3 separate regions of the Homo sapiens genome follow, and all the other regions are linked to region 1. The links are contacts of gene promoters, found by promoter capture Hi-C in human tissues and cell types (Jung and others, 2019). All regions are on one chromosome and are shown on one strand. Each heading gives the region's core, a stretch centred on a gene start or on the middle of the fragment in contact. The rest is flanking DNA. Distances are from core to core; before and after follow the strand shown. Region 1 holds the start of KMT2C (lysine methyltransferase 2C). Region 2 overlaps ACTR3B (actin related protein 3B). Region 3 has its middle 14 kb from the start of ACTR3B.

Region 1 (4,399 bases), core at 651-3,150:
CATATATGTTGTATTTCTATGTGTAATCGTCAGGCACTTTTAATTTCTAGTTTGCATTTACCATGCCAGCCTCCTCCTCAATCCCAAATTTCCTTTGGTTATAAATTTAGTAAATTTGAAAGAGCCAGCAGGGATTAAACCCTGAAGGTATTCAAATGACTATCTGACGTTATTCCTCATTTCAGCCATTTCAAAAAATTATGCTTTCATTTAGAATAGGCTCTGGGAATCAAAGTGTGTGTATTTTGCCCAAGTAGAAGACACAGTTTAAAGTTAACATCCTAGCTACTAGAAGGGAAAGCAAACATCGCTGGAAAAGGAGCCTATTTTTTTTTACCTTACACTAAAACTACACTGCGAAGATCAAAAGAAATCAACATGAGAGTGTGCCTCTTAACGCTAGGCCCAAAGTAGATGCTTATTAAATGATAGTTTACCCCAATCCTTCACAAATGGTTGATAGGTCTTACTATTTCCCCCCATTCAAATCTAGAATTTTTTCACTCTCATAAACTAATCGATAGTGAATGGAAAGCACAGAATAGATCATCGTCCAAGTGTTAGGTATTAGCCTGAGAAATCCAGAATCCCATATTTGTAACTGTCCTTCTTGAGAAAGTGCATTTTTCAGGCGGATTCTAGCCCCATTTTTCTTTTTACCATTTTTACATATTATGAGAGGTGGCTTAGAAGTACTTCGATTTTTGCCTCTTCATCACAACACACTGAACGTTAAAATCAAGTGGTTGGGTTTTTATTGGCTTATTTTGTCTCTAACCGTTTTATTTCTCGAGCTGTCATCGTTCTTTTCGTCTTACATCCTTATGAACCTTTTCTGGATTAAAAAAAATGACGTTATAATAAGGAAACTAACTGGCGTTGGATTCGAACGAAGTTGACTCCATTCCTTTTCCTCCCCGTAGTGTGGGCGCTACGAGGAAAGACCTCGGCGAGAACCAGCGAAGCCCGGGCTGCCCTCGCCGTGCGGGCGCACATTTGCTCCTCGCGCCGGGCTGCGCCGGGCGACCGCGGCCGCCTCGGCGTGTGTCCGCGGCTCCCTCCCGCCCTCGCCCGCAGTTCCCCGATCCCGATCCCGGATCTCTGGGTCCACAGCTTGGCTACCTCCCGAGCCGGAGCCGGAGCCGGAGCCGGAGTCGCGGCTGGGCCCGGCCGCCGCGTCACAGGGGGAGGGAACCCGGGGGGGAGGGGGAGGGGCGGTGAGGTCAGCGGCGGCGGCGCGTCCGCGGGCGGCGGGAGCGGCGCATGCGCGGAGCGAGGCCCGTGAGTGGCAGCGGCGGCGCGCGGGGGGCGGGCGAGGGGCCGAGTGTGGGGGAGCGGGCGGGGGCCGTCGAGGCGGCGGTGTGTGGGCGCGACGGCTGCGAGTTGGAGAGGTCTGTGGTGCGGGTCGCCCCGGGGGATCCCCGGCGCGGGCCTCGCGCGACGGCCACGGTCGCGCGGCGTGTGTGTGGGGTCCAAGCACACCCGCAAAACTTCCTCCTCCCCTGCTCCGGGAGAGCGAGCGAGCGTGTGTGAGAGAGCGAGTGTGAGGAGCGAGCCGCGGCCCGGCGCCCAGCGCCGCCACTGGAGCAGCTGTCAAAACTTCGCCGCCGCCGCCGCCCGGGCCTGACGGGCCTGACGCGCGGGGGAGGGGCGGCCGGCCGGGGGCGCGACCCCCTCGCCGCCCCCGCCGGGCCCCGCGGCCGGCCCTCCCCGCGCCGGGCCCCTTTCTCCTCCTGCCGCGGGCGGCTCGGGGGAGGGGCCGCGGGCGGAGACCCCGGGGGCCGGCGCCCCTCACGCCGCCCGCCCGCCCGGCTGCCCCGCCCGCCCGCACCCGCCGGCCCCGCCCGCCCCGCACCGCCCGCCCCGCCCGCCGCCCCCCGCCCGGCCCCTGCGCGCGGAGGTGCGCGCGCCCGCGCCGATGTGTGTGAGTGCGTGTCCTGCTCGCTCCATGTTGCCGCCTCTCCCGGTACCTGCTGCTGCTCCCGGGGCTGCGGGAAATGCGAGAGGCTGAGCCGGGGAGGAGGAACCCGAGCAGCAGCGGCGGCGGCGGCGGCCGCGGCGGCGGGAGCCCCCCAGGAGGAGGACCGGGATCCATGTGTCTTTCCTGGTGACTAGGATGTCGTCGGAGGAGGACAAGAGCGTGGAGCAGCCGCAGCCGCCGCCACCACCCCCCGAGGAGCCTGGAGCCCCGGCCCCGAGCCCCGCAGCCGCAGACAAAAGACCTCGGGGCCGGCCTCGCAAAGATGGCGCTTCCCCTTTCCAGAGAGCCAGAAAGAAGTAAGTTGAGTGCGAGGGAGCCAGGCCGGGAGCCAGCGGCGGCGCCGGGCCGGAGCTGTCACCGGGCGCCCGCCCCGCGGCCTCCGCGCCCCGGCGCCCCCCGGCGGGGTGGGGGCGGGGCGGGCCCGCGGGCGGTGGCGGCTCCCGGCCCCGGCCCCGCGCCCCTCGGTAGCCGCCCGCGCCCGGCCTCCCCCGCTCCGCGCCGCCCGCCCGGGCTCCCGCCGGCGCCCGGCTCCGCACACTTTACTTTTCAGTCGGGCCTTTTCACTGGGTCTTCTCCGCGACTCTTCTTTTGGAGAAATTTCTCGTAGCCGCGTCTTGGCCTAGCTGGATCATTGAGAAAACAAGCCCGGAGCGCGCCCAGGTAGTCCCCGGACGGACTCCGGGCGAACCGCCGAGCCGTCGGCGCTCGGGAAACTCTCGGAGCTGTCAAAACGCCCGGGCCAGGTGGTCTCGGGGCGCGGGCTGGGGGCGAGAAGAAAGCGGCCGGGCGAGTGCAGCTTTTGTTTGTCAGCGACTTGCTCCTGGAACTTTTCCTGGTCCCAAACCTGTGTTTTCTTCTTTTGATGATATATTAGGAAGCCATTTGACTTCTTCCTCCCCCCTCCCCCAACACCCAGCACCGCACTCCCGGGCTCCGAAAGCACAAGTCCTGTGGGATCCCCCAGCTTCGGGGAACGGCCTGCCTAAGTTTTGGAGACGTAGCCAGCGTCCCCTCGTAAGGCAGAATACCAAGAGCACTTATTCGGAGAGAGTGCAGATGTAAATGTCGCTTCCCTCGTAAGTCTTAGCTGTAAGGGGCTTGGGAATAGGGTCGCCTGCCTTTGAGCGTACAGTAGGGCTGGACCCCAGCTTATTAGAGGACCAGAAATGTCTTCTTACAGAACGGTTATTTGACGGCTTTGCTTGTAAATTAAGACACCGTTTTAGTGCCAGCGAACTGCTCGGCTTCTGTGGCTCTCGCGTGTGCCGTGGAAGAACTGTGAATGTCTCTCGAAGTTGTAGAATGGCGTGTGTGCTTACTCATTTCGTGAGATGATATTCTCATTGAACTGTCGGGAGTGGAAGGGTGCGCTGGGACGTGAAGGAAGCCAGCACGTTTATGGATAGGCTGTTTCTTTGGTTCGGGTGCATTCACTTAGTAATAGTATTGTTGTTTGGTGATTTGTAGTAAAAATAGTAGCGTGAACTGAGGCATAGCAGAGCTGGGTTGTGGGAACCCATTGAGCTCTTGACTTGAATGTGCTCTTTTCTTGCCCCGCTGTCCTTTTACTATGAAAATGATTCAGGGCCTTCAACTTGCCTCCATATTTTATTGCCAGCTGTTACCTAGCTATGATAATCGTGAGGGAAGCAAGTACAGGATGTGTGTACATTATTACATTAGCTTGTTCGTGATACAAAGTTAGGACTTATTTATTATGCCACTTGCGTTGTAATACAGTGGCAAGTATAAAATGCCCTTATTCTGTATTAACTGAAATTTGTAGAAGGAAGTGGAGGTTTAAGTAATTTTTAGACATGTAAGCCACTTTTTTTTGCATCCTTTAAAGCAACTCAGGACAAGCCATATTGGGGTTTTACCTTGATTGCCTCCCATTTCACTATTTGCAAAGCATTTCTTCATCTCTTACTGAACATTAATTTGCAAGTATTGTTTTAAATTTGCATTTGAATTCTTACTCCAGAAAGATTAGATCTATGTTGTCACACCCCACACCCCATACTCCTGTAAGGGCGTGCTTGTGCACGCGCACACGCGCACACTCACACGCACGCGCACACTCGCACACACCCTACTTTTGAAATGAGCTCATTTGTATTAGTGCAGCTCCTGAGTGCACTGGACGATTAGGGTATTGCCACTTTATTATTTTAATTCTGAATCTCATGAAGAAATAGGCAGCCTTTGGAGAAGATAAAAAATTTCTGCTGAATAACAGTATAATCTAACTATGAAAAATCAAAACTTTTGGAAATATTTAGAACAAATGTAAGTCTGTAGAGAGCTTTTTCTTTTAGATTTGAAAACTAGTACTGCTTTCTTTATAGGAAATTAAAGTCTACTGGTAAATTTGACGGGTCTAAACTTTTTAGAGCGTTTTTTTTGAAATTGTGTCTT
Region 2 (4,399 bases), core at 1,541-4,040, 330 kb before region 1:
TGGCTCATGGCTGTAATCTCAGCACTTTGGGAGGCCCAGGCAGGCAGATCACCTGAGGTCAGGAGTTCAAGACTGGCCTGACCAACATGGAGAAACCCCGTCTCTATTAAAAATACAAAATTAGCCGGGCATAGTGGCGCATGCCTGTAATCCCAGCTACTTGGGAGGCTGAGGCAGGAGAATCACTTGAACCCGGGAGGCGGAGGTTGTGGTGAGCCAAGATCGCGCCATTCTACTCCAGCCTGAACAATGAAAGCAAAACTCTGTCTCCGGAAAAAAAAAAAAAAAAAAAAAAGGGCCAGGGTAAGACCCAGTCTCAAAACAAAAATAAAAATAAATAAGTAAAATAAAGAACAATGTACAATCAAGGTCCTCGGCCACACTGTAGAACTTTGGAGGATGCTCACTCCAACTAACTGCTGTCACCTTCACCATTCTATTCTTTTCTTTATAAATTACCCGGTGTGTGGTATTCTGTTACAGCAACACAAAACAAAGACATTAAGATATCATTTATTCTAGGTTGGTAATTTTACAAATTGGCAATAGGCTCTATTGGTGAGTCTGTAAGACACAGGCATCCTCACACATTACTGGTGAGAATGCACACTAATGAGTGTAATTTGACACTGCCTAGCAAAATTACATATGCATTTGCCCTTTGACCCAGAAATCCCATTTCTAAAAATCTAAGCCACAGATACTCAGGCAAAAAATACAAAAAGATATCCTTGCTTTATTTTTTCTTTTTTTTTTTTTTTGAGATGGAGTCTCGCTGTTGCCAGGCTGGAGTGCAGTGGCGCGATCTCAGCTCACTGCAACCTCCGCCTCCTGGTTCAAGCGATCCTCCTGCCTCAGCCTCCTGAGTAGCTAGGACTACTAAAATTAGCCCACCAGTGTGCCCGGCTAATTTTTTTGTATTTCTTTTTTTTTTTAGTAGAGACGGGGTTTCACCGTGTTAGCCAGGATGGTCTCGATCTCCTGACCACGGGTCGTGATCCACATCCTCGGCCTCCCAAAGTGCTGGGACTACAGGTGTGAGCCACTGCGCCTGGCCAGAATGCTCAAAAAATGAAGACATGTCTAAAGAACATGGAAGGCCAGGTGCAGTGCCTCACTCCTGTAATCCCAACACCTTGGGAGGCAGAGGTGGGCAGATCACCTGAGGTTAGGAGTTCAAGACCAGCCTGGCCAACATGACAAAACCCCATCTCTACTAAAAATACAAAAAAACAGCCATGCGTGGTGGTGTACACCTATAATCCCAGCTACTCAGGAGGCTGGGGCAGGAGAATCGCTTGAACCCGGGAGGCAGAGGTTGTAGTGAGCTGAAGTCACACCACTGCACTTCAGCCTGGGCAACACAGCAAGACTCCGTCTCAAAAAATAAATAAATAAAAAATAAAGAACATGGGAGTCAGCCTGAATGAGCTTCACTTGGCAAAATCTGGGACAATTTAAGCAATAGATAACCCACTGACAACAATGAGGACGGCATAATGGATTATCATTCTTTGAACAGAACGACAACTCATACAGACAATAAACAAATGAGGCCTATGGATAAGTTCTTCCTTAAAATAAAATGTTAACTAATAAATGGAGACAGAATAATAGAGTTCAAAAATCACCATTTTGCAACCATCACCATAATTAGTAATTCAGGCAAGAATCACCAATGGGCCAGGCACAGTGGCTCACGCCTGTAATCACAGCACTTTGGGAGGCCAAGGCGGGTGGATTGCTTGAGATCAGGATTCAAGACCAGCTTGGGCAACATGATGAAATCCCGTCTCTACCAAAAATACAAAAAGTTAGCCGGGCATGGTGGCTCATGCCTGTAATCCCAGCTACCCATGAGGCTGAAGCAGGAGAATTCCCTGAACCTGGGAGACAGAGGTTGCAGTGAGCAGAGATTGTGCCACTGCACTCCAGCCTAGGAAACAGAACAAGATTCTGTCAAAAAAAAAGAAAAAAACAAGAGTCACCAATGGATACTTAAACTAATGGATGAAAGTTTAAGAATAGAGTACTTACATAAAATATTCCCCCACAAATGACTTTTTTTTTTTTTTTTTTTTTTTTTTTTTTGAGATGGAGTCTCGCTCTGTCACCAGGCTGGAGTGCAGTGGCCCGATCTCGGCTCACTGCAACTTCCGCCTCTCGGATTCAAGTGATTCTCCTGAGCAGCCTCCAAAGCAGCTGGGACTACAGGCACGCACCACCACACCCAGCTAATTTTTGTATTTTTAGTAGAGACGGGGTTTCACCATGTTGGCCAGGTTGGTCTCGAACTCCTGCCCTCAGGTGATCCGCCCGCCTCGGCCTCCCAAAGTGCTGGGATTACAGGCATGAGCCACCGCGCCCAGCCAAATGACTTATTAATTACAAAGAAAAATAGTAACTGAACAGTGAAGAAACCTCGTGGACATCACCCTCTCCAAATGATCCAAGTGAACTTCATCAAGACTGAGGCGAGTCCCTATCTTAAGCCTTTCGATGGGATGCACTAAGAAGGATCAACAGGACTTCTGTGGTAGTCCTGACAAATATGCATATCCTGTATCTATCACAGAGAAACACTAGGTAACAACTGGCTGTCAAAAATGCCAACATCTTGAAAGACAAAAAAAGGTTAAGAAATTATTCCAGATTAAATTAGACTTAAAAGACATGACACCCACCAGATGCAATGTATGCCGCTGATGGGGAGGTCTTTCATGGGTGACATTCCATAAAAGACATGAATCCATACTGTATATAGGATACTACTGTATGTATGTTAAATTTTCTGATTTTGATGATTGGAATGTGATTCTAGAAGGGAAAATGTGTCCTCAGAAAGTACGCATTCAAGTATTTTGATATAAAAGGGTATGATCTCTGCAACTTACTCTCAAACAGTGCAGGAAAGTAATAATAATATGTATGGACATACAGAGAGTGACAAAGCAAATGTTAACAGTTGGTAAAACTGGAAGAAGAGTATACAGTAGTTTTTTGTTCTCTTCCAGCTTTCAGTAGATTTGAAATTATTTCAAAAAAAGTTGAAAAATGCAAAAGACTTCATTTGAAAAGTTTGGCTCAGAGAAGTGAGACCGGAGTTGTGAAATATTCTCTGAAAACTATGCAGCCTAGTCATCCCTTTAAATAGATGAAGCTTTATTTTTGGACTCAGCAGATCCCTTTGTCCATATTATCCTGGCCTCCAGCACATCACTGCTTACTCAGGTAGTCTCGGGGTTTACCTGAGGAGGATTCAAGGATACTGGGATGAAATTTATTTGTAAAAAATACTGTTTATCACACTGTCCAATAAATCATTAGTGCCCACTATGTATAGCTCAATGCTTTTACAATTTAGTACTACAAAAAAAGGCTTTTTTCACCCAAGAAACAGGTATTTCTCTTGATTTCTGATGACAGGAATTACATAACCATGACTCTTATGATGTTGTCAGACAGGAAGACTAAGGTCGAATGTGCGGACCAACTTCAGCAGCCACTGGGCTAAAGCTCAGGGTGACTTCCTAGGTCCGTTCTTTTCCTTTGGCTTGGTTATTTTTATCTGAATTTTACCACTTTTTGTCCTATTTTGAGGCAAAACTAAATCCAAAAATCATTTTGGCTCTCTGGGAAATGTAAGAACTACTGATGTGCTCAAGTTGGTAAATTCGGGCTCTTTCAGGCTCCTTCTGGCCATACACTCGATATGGGGAATTCATATGGAGATTCCCTGCCACCGTTTCTAAGTCTTGACACCAACTTCTGAAGCATGACTTTGGGCCACAAAACAATGATCTATAGAAGTTGAATCTCCAAGTTAGCCAAGTTACATTAATCACTTACCTCAAAAGGTCAAAACTGAGCACGACATTTTAGGTATTTATAGCAAGAAAGATGAGTAAGGTCCACGACTTACTAATCTTAAAGGTATGACAACTCTGTGAGCATTATTTTATTGCTACTACCAAGAATTCCTTTATATTTTAATAGTTCTGCAAGACTAAAACTACAAAGCAAAAATCTCACATGCAAATGTGGAAATGAAAAATACTTTCACCCACTGGTTTCACTCTTGACACAACCAGACCTGAGGGGACCTGAGGTGAACCCATTGGGGGAGGGCATGAGTTAAGGGTGTCAATAATTGAGGGAGGGGAGCTGTAGTATCGACAACGCTGATTTTGGCTTGTGTTTTAGGTAGAAAAGCAAGTTCTAAAATAAAGAGCTACAAAGCTTGATATGACGTGTATTTCAAAAAGAATTCACACAAGCAAAGAGGATTTTTCCAGTCCACAACCACTTCTGGTCGCTTCAGCAGCAAAAGGAAGGAACTAACAGTAGGAGATGGACTGTAGCAAACTAAAGAAGGCACCCCCACAAGGTTGTCAAGGAA
Region 3 (4,399 bases), core at 927-3,426, 310 kb before region 1:
GCCAGGCTGGTCTCGAACTCCTGACCTCATGATCCACCCGCCTTGGCCTCCCAAAGTGCTGGGAGTACAGGCGTGAGCCACTGTGTCCGGCCCCCAACATTTTTAATTATATTAATTTATACCAAGAAAAATGCATAAAATTAACTGTACTTGTTTTTTGCAGAATAAAAAGAGCCCACATTTTGAAATCTCAAAGACCTGCATTCAAAGCCCATTTTAGAAATGAGGCCAGGCGCAGTGGCTCACACCTGTAATCCCAGAACTTTGGGAGGCTGAGGAGGGCGGATCACCTGAGGTCAGGAGTTCAAGATCAGCCTGACCAATGTGGTAAAACCCCGTCTCTACTAAAAATACAAAAATTAGCCGCATGGTAGCGCATGCCTGTAATCTCAGCTACTTGCAAGGCTGAGGCAGGAGAATCGCTTGAACCTGGGAGGTGGAGGTTGCAGTGAGCCGAGATTGTGCCATTCCACTCCAGCCTGGGCAACAAGAGTAAAACTCCATCTCAAAAGAAAAAAAAGAAATGTATGTTTTTGTATGAGTAATTTAATATCTCTGAGCTTTAGTTTCCTTGTCTGTAAGAAAGGCTTTTTCTGAGTTGTAAAGTTAGTGTATAAAAATACCAAGGACTGGGCATGGTGGCTCATGCCTATAATCCCAGCCGTTTTGGAGGCTGAGGTGGGAGGATAGCTTGAGCCCAGGCATTTGAGACCAGCCTGGGCAACATGGCAATACCCCACTTCTACCAAAAAAAAAAAAAAAAAAAATTAGTTAGCCAGATACGGTGGTGTACCTGTAGTCCCAGCTGCTCAGGAAGCTGAGGCAGAAAGATCACATGAGCCCAGGAGTTCAAGGCTACAGTGAGCTATGTTCAAGCCCCTGCACTCCAGCCTGGGCAGCAGAGTGAGTCCTTGTCTCAAAAATGAATCAATAAAGTTTTTAAAAATAAAAATGCTAAGTAGTGTCACATGGCAAGTGTCCATATCATTACTGCCCTCATCCTCAGCAGCTGCCTTCTTCTAACTCAAAGGCGGGCCAATCTTTTGGCTTACCTGGGCCACACTGGAAGATGAAGAATTGTCTTGGACCACATGTGAAATACACTAACACTAATGGTAGCTGATGAGCAAAAAAAAAAAAAAAAAAAAAAAATCACAAAAAGAACTCATAATGTTTTAAGAAAGTTTACGATTTTGCATTGGGCTGCATTAAAGCCATCCTGGGCTGCATTTGGCCCGCAGGCCATGGGCCAAGCTTGTTCTCATTCGTGATTCTCTCAGCTTTAGATTTGTGTGGACAAAATCACACAGCTGTTTTTGGTTATCTGGATTATAACTAAGGTATAAAAAAAGATTGAAAGACACCTATCCTCAATATTACTAAGATTTGAGACATCTTTTTATTAATAGAAATGAACTATGTTGAATTTTTCATGTCCTCATACCTGCTCTCCCTTGTGTCCAAAGACACTTAATGGTCATGGTGCCAGAACTTCTGTAATTCAGAGCCAAATAGTCCATGTTGGTCAAAGATACAGGCTTTGAGGCCAAACTGCCTGATTTAAATCTCAGCTCTGGCTTGATGCATTTGTTACTTTAGGCAAGGTACTTAACCTCTCTGTGACTCAGTTTCCATCTTGTCAAAATGTAGGAAGTGACTTCACAGGGCTGATGTGAAGAATAAAGATGCAGTTTATTACCTTATTACCTTACAATTACCTTATTACCTTACAAGTTCGAGACCATCCTGGGCAACATGGCAAAACCCTGTCTCTACAAAAAAATTAAAAAATTAGTCAGGCATGGTGGCACGCACCTATAGTCCAAACTACTTGGGGGACTGAGGCAGGAGGATCACTTGAGCCCAGAGGTCAAGGCTGCAGTGAGCCAAGATCACGCTACTGCACTGCAGTCCGAGTGACAGAGTGAGACCCCATGTCTTAAAAAACAAAGAAAAAGAAAAATTACCACTGGAAAATGTTCCAGCCCCCTCTTCAGTGTTTGCTTGGAAGATGCTGTATTAATCTGTTCTCATACTGCTATGAAGAAATATCTGAGACTGAGTAATTTATAAAGAAAAGAGTTTTAATGGACTCACAGTTCTCCATTGCTGGGGAGGCCTCAGGAAGCTTACAATCATGGCAAAGATGAAGGAGAAGCAAAGATACGTCTTACTTGGTGGCAGGTGGGAGAGCCTGTGTTCGAGTGCAGGGGAAACTGCCCTTTATAAACCATCAAATCTCATGAGACTCACTCACTATCACAAGAACAGCATGGGGAAAACCACCCCGGTGATTCAATCATCTCCATCTGGTCTCTCCCTTGACGTGTGGAGATTACGGGGATTACAGTTCCAGGTGAGATTTGGGTGGGAACACAGAGCCAAACCATATCAGATGCCATGGTGACTGGGAGTGTTTTCAGTGACTTTAAGGGCCTGACCAATGCTTCTTTGAGTAAGACTGCTTTGAAGGTGCTCACCAGGAAGCCCACAGCTTTGTGCCTAATGCAAGGGCAAAGCCATACAGCCCAACCAGACATGGTGGTATGCACCTGTAGTTCCAGTTACTCAGGAGGCTGAGGCCATAGGATCAATTGAACCCAAGAGTTGGAGAACAGCTAGGCAACCTAGCAAGATCCCACCCTCCCCCCAAACAACAAAAAACAAAAACAAGCATACAGCTTGACATGGGCACTACTTGCTTTTAAATTGAGCTTATCTTTTTTTTTTTCTTTTTGACACAGGATCTTGCTCTGTTGCCCAGGCTGGAGTGCAGTGGGACAATCACAACTCACAGTAGCCTCACACTCCTGGGTGCAAGGGATCCTCCCACCTCAGCCTCTCAAGTAGCTGAGTGAGCGCTCACACTGCTCCTGCCTGCAGACCCTCTCCAATGCCCCTTTCACCATCTCTTTCTCAGCCTACCTGCCCAAGACTCACCGTCAGCCACCCAGCCTCCTTCCTCCTGGCAGCAGCTATCCTTTCTCTCTCATGAGTTAACTCTTCCCTCTTTCCAAAAAGATCCATCCAGCTCTAGAGTTTCTGCCCATCTCTCCCATTCTGGTCTGCAGGTCTCATTCCTGAGAAGGACAGAGGCATTTAGAATAGTAACTCAAACATTTCAGCCAAAATACTCCCCAAAGCTCCTTATTGAGCAAGAAAGAGATTACTAATAATTTCCCCATCCCCTAATTCCTATATAAAGATGAATACTGGCCGGGCGTGGTGGTTCACGCCTGTAATCCCAGCACTTTGGGAGACCAAGGTGGGTGGATCACAAGGTCAGGAGTTTGAGACCAGGCTGGCCAATATGGTGAAACCCCATCTCTACTAAAAATACAAAAAAACTAGCCAAGTGTGGTGACATGCGCCTGTAGTCCCAGCTACTCCATTGCTGAGGCAATGGAGGCTGAGGCAGGAGAATCACTTGAACCCAGGAGGTGGAGATTACAGTGAGCCGAGATTGCGCCACTGCACTCCAGCCTGGGCAATAGAGGGAGACTCCAACTCAAAAAAAAAAAAAGAATGCTTATGCCATCATGCTGCACATTTCTCTACCACGCTGGAACTGGTCTAAGTGTAGTTTCCCACTTTTGAAGTGGCTGAATCTTAATTTTCACAAAGCTGGATTCTGGTTCCCATGGACCCACCCACTGCAGGAGCTGGTAGCCCACAGTTTAGTAAACAAGATCCCCCTCGCTTTGGTGTGAATGTTGATATGGTTTGAATGATGACGTGGCATCCCCTCCAAAATTCATGTTGAAACTTCATCCCCAGTGCAGTGGTGTTGAGAGGTATGGCGTTTGGGAGGTGATTAAGTGAGGAGGGCTCTCCCCACATAAGTGGAATTAGCACCCTTACAAAAGGGCTCACTGGCTGGGCGCTGTGGCTCACACCTGTAATCCCAGCACTTTGGGAGGCCAAGGCGAGTGGGTCACCTGCTGTCAGGAGTTTGAGACCAGCCTGACCAACATGGTGAACGCTCATCTCTACTGAAAATACAAAATTAGCCGGGCATGGTGGCACATGCCTGTAATCCCAGCTACTTCAGAGGCTAAGGCAGGAGAATGGCTTGAACCTGGGAGGCAGAGGTTGCAGTGAGCCAAGATTGTGCCATTGCACTCCAGCCTGGGCAACAAGAGTGAAACTCTTGTCTCAAAAATAAAAAGGGCTCACACCTGTAATCCCAGCATTTTGGGAAGCTGAGACGGGAGGATCATTTGAGATCAGGAGTGTGAGACCAGCCTGACAAACATAGCGAAACCCCATCTCTACTAAAAATATTAAAAATTAGCTAGGTGTGGTGGTGAATGCCTGTAATCCCAGCTACTTCAGAGGCTAAGGCAGGAGAATGGCTTGAACCTGGGAGGCGGAGGTTGCAGTGAGCCAAGATCGTGCC

Evidence for each region. The method cuts DNA at HindIII sites, captures the fragments that hold promoters and counts their contacts. A contact is called where the count stands out against the background at its distance.
Region 2: a fragment that was not itself captured here is called in contact with the fragment with the promoter of KMT2C in region 1 in 2 of the 25 tissues and cell types used here (hippocampus and ovary).
Region 3: a contact is called between a fragment that was not itself captured here and the fragment with the promoter of KMT2C in region 1, in 1 of the 25 tissues and cell types used here (dorsolateral prefrontal cortex).

What each region holds. Positions count from the first base shown.
Region 1 is chr7:152,433,504-152,437,902 of GRCh38, reverse strand. It overlaps KMT2C (lysine methyltransferase 2C), which reads left to right and starts at 1,900. Exons shown (of 59, transcript NM_170606.3): 1 at 1,900-2,277. The coding sequence starts at 2,117. It also overlaps the pseudogene FABP5P3. RefSeq lists silencers at 884-1,223, 1,264-1,553, 1,644-1,693, 2,074-2,133 and enhancers at 2,614-2,843, 2,884-2,933, 3,404-3,473, 3,784-3,833. The HindIII fragment of the contact is 14,314 bases long and covers 1-4,399 here.
Region 2 is chr7:152,761,006-152,765,404 of GRCh38, reverse strand. All of the region lies in intron 1 of ACTR3B (actin related protein 3B), which reads right to left. Among named protein-coding and RNA genes, the nearest start is that of ACTR3B, 3.5 kb to the right of the region's middle. The HindIII fragment of the contact is 3,230 bases long and covers 1,176-4,399 here.
Region 3 is chr7:152,743,948-152,748,346 of GRCh38, reverse strand. No RefSeq gene overlaps it. Among named protein-coding and RNA genes, the nearest start is that of ACTR3B, 14 kb to the left of the region's middle. The HindIII fragment of the contact is 4,449 bases long and covers 1-4,399 here.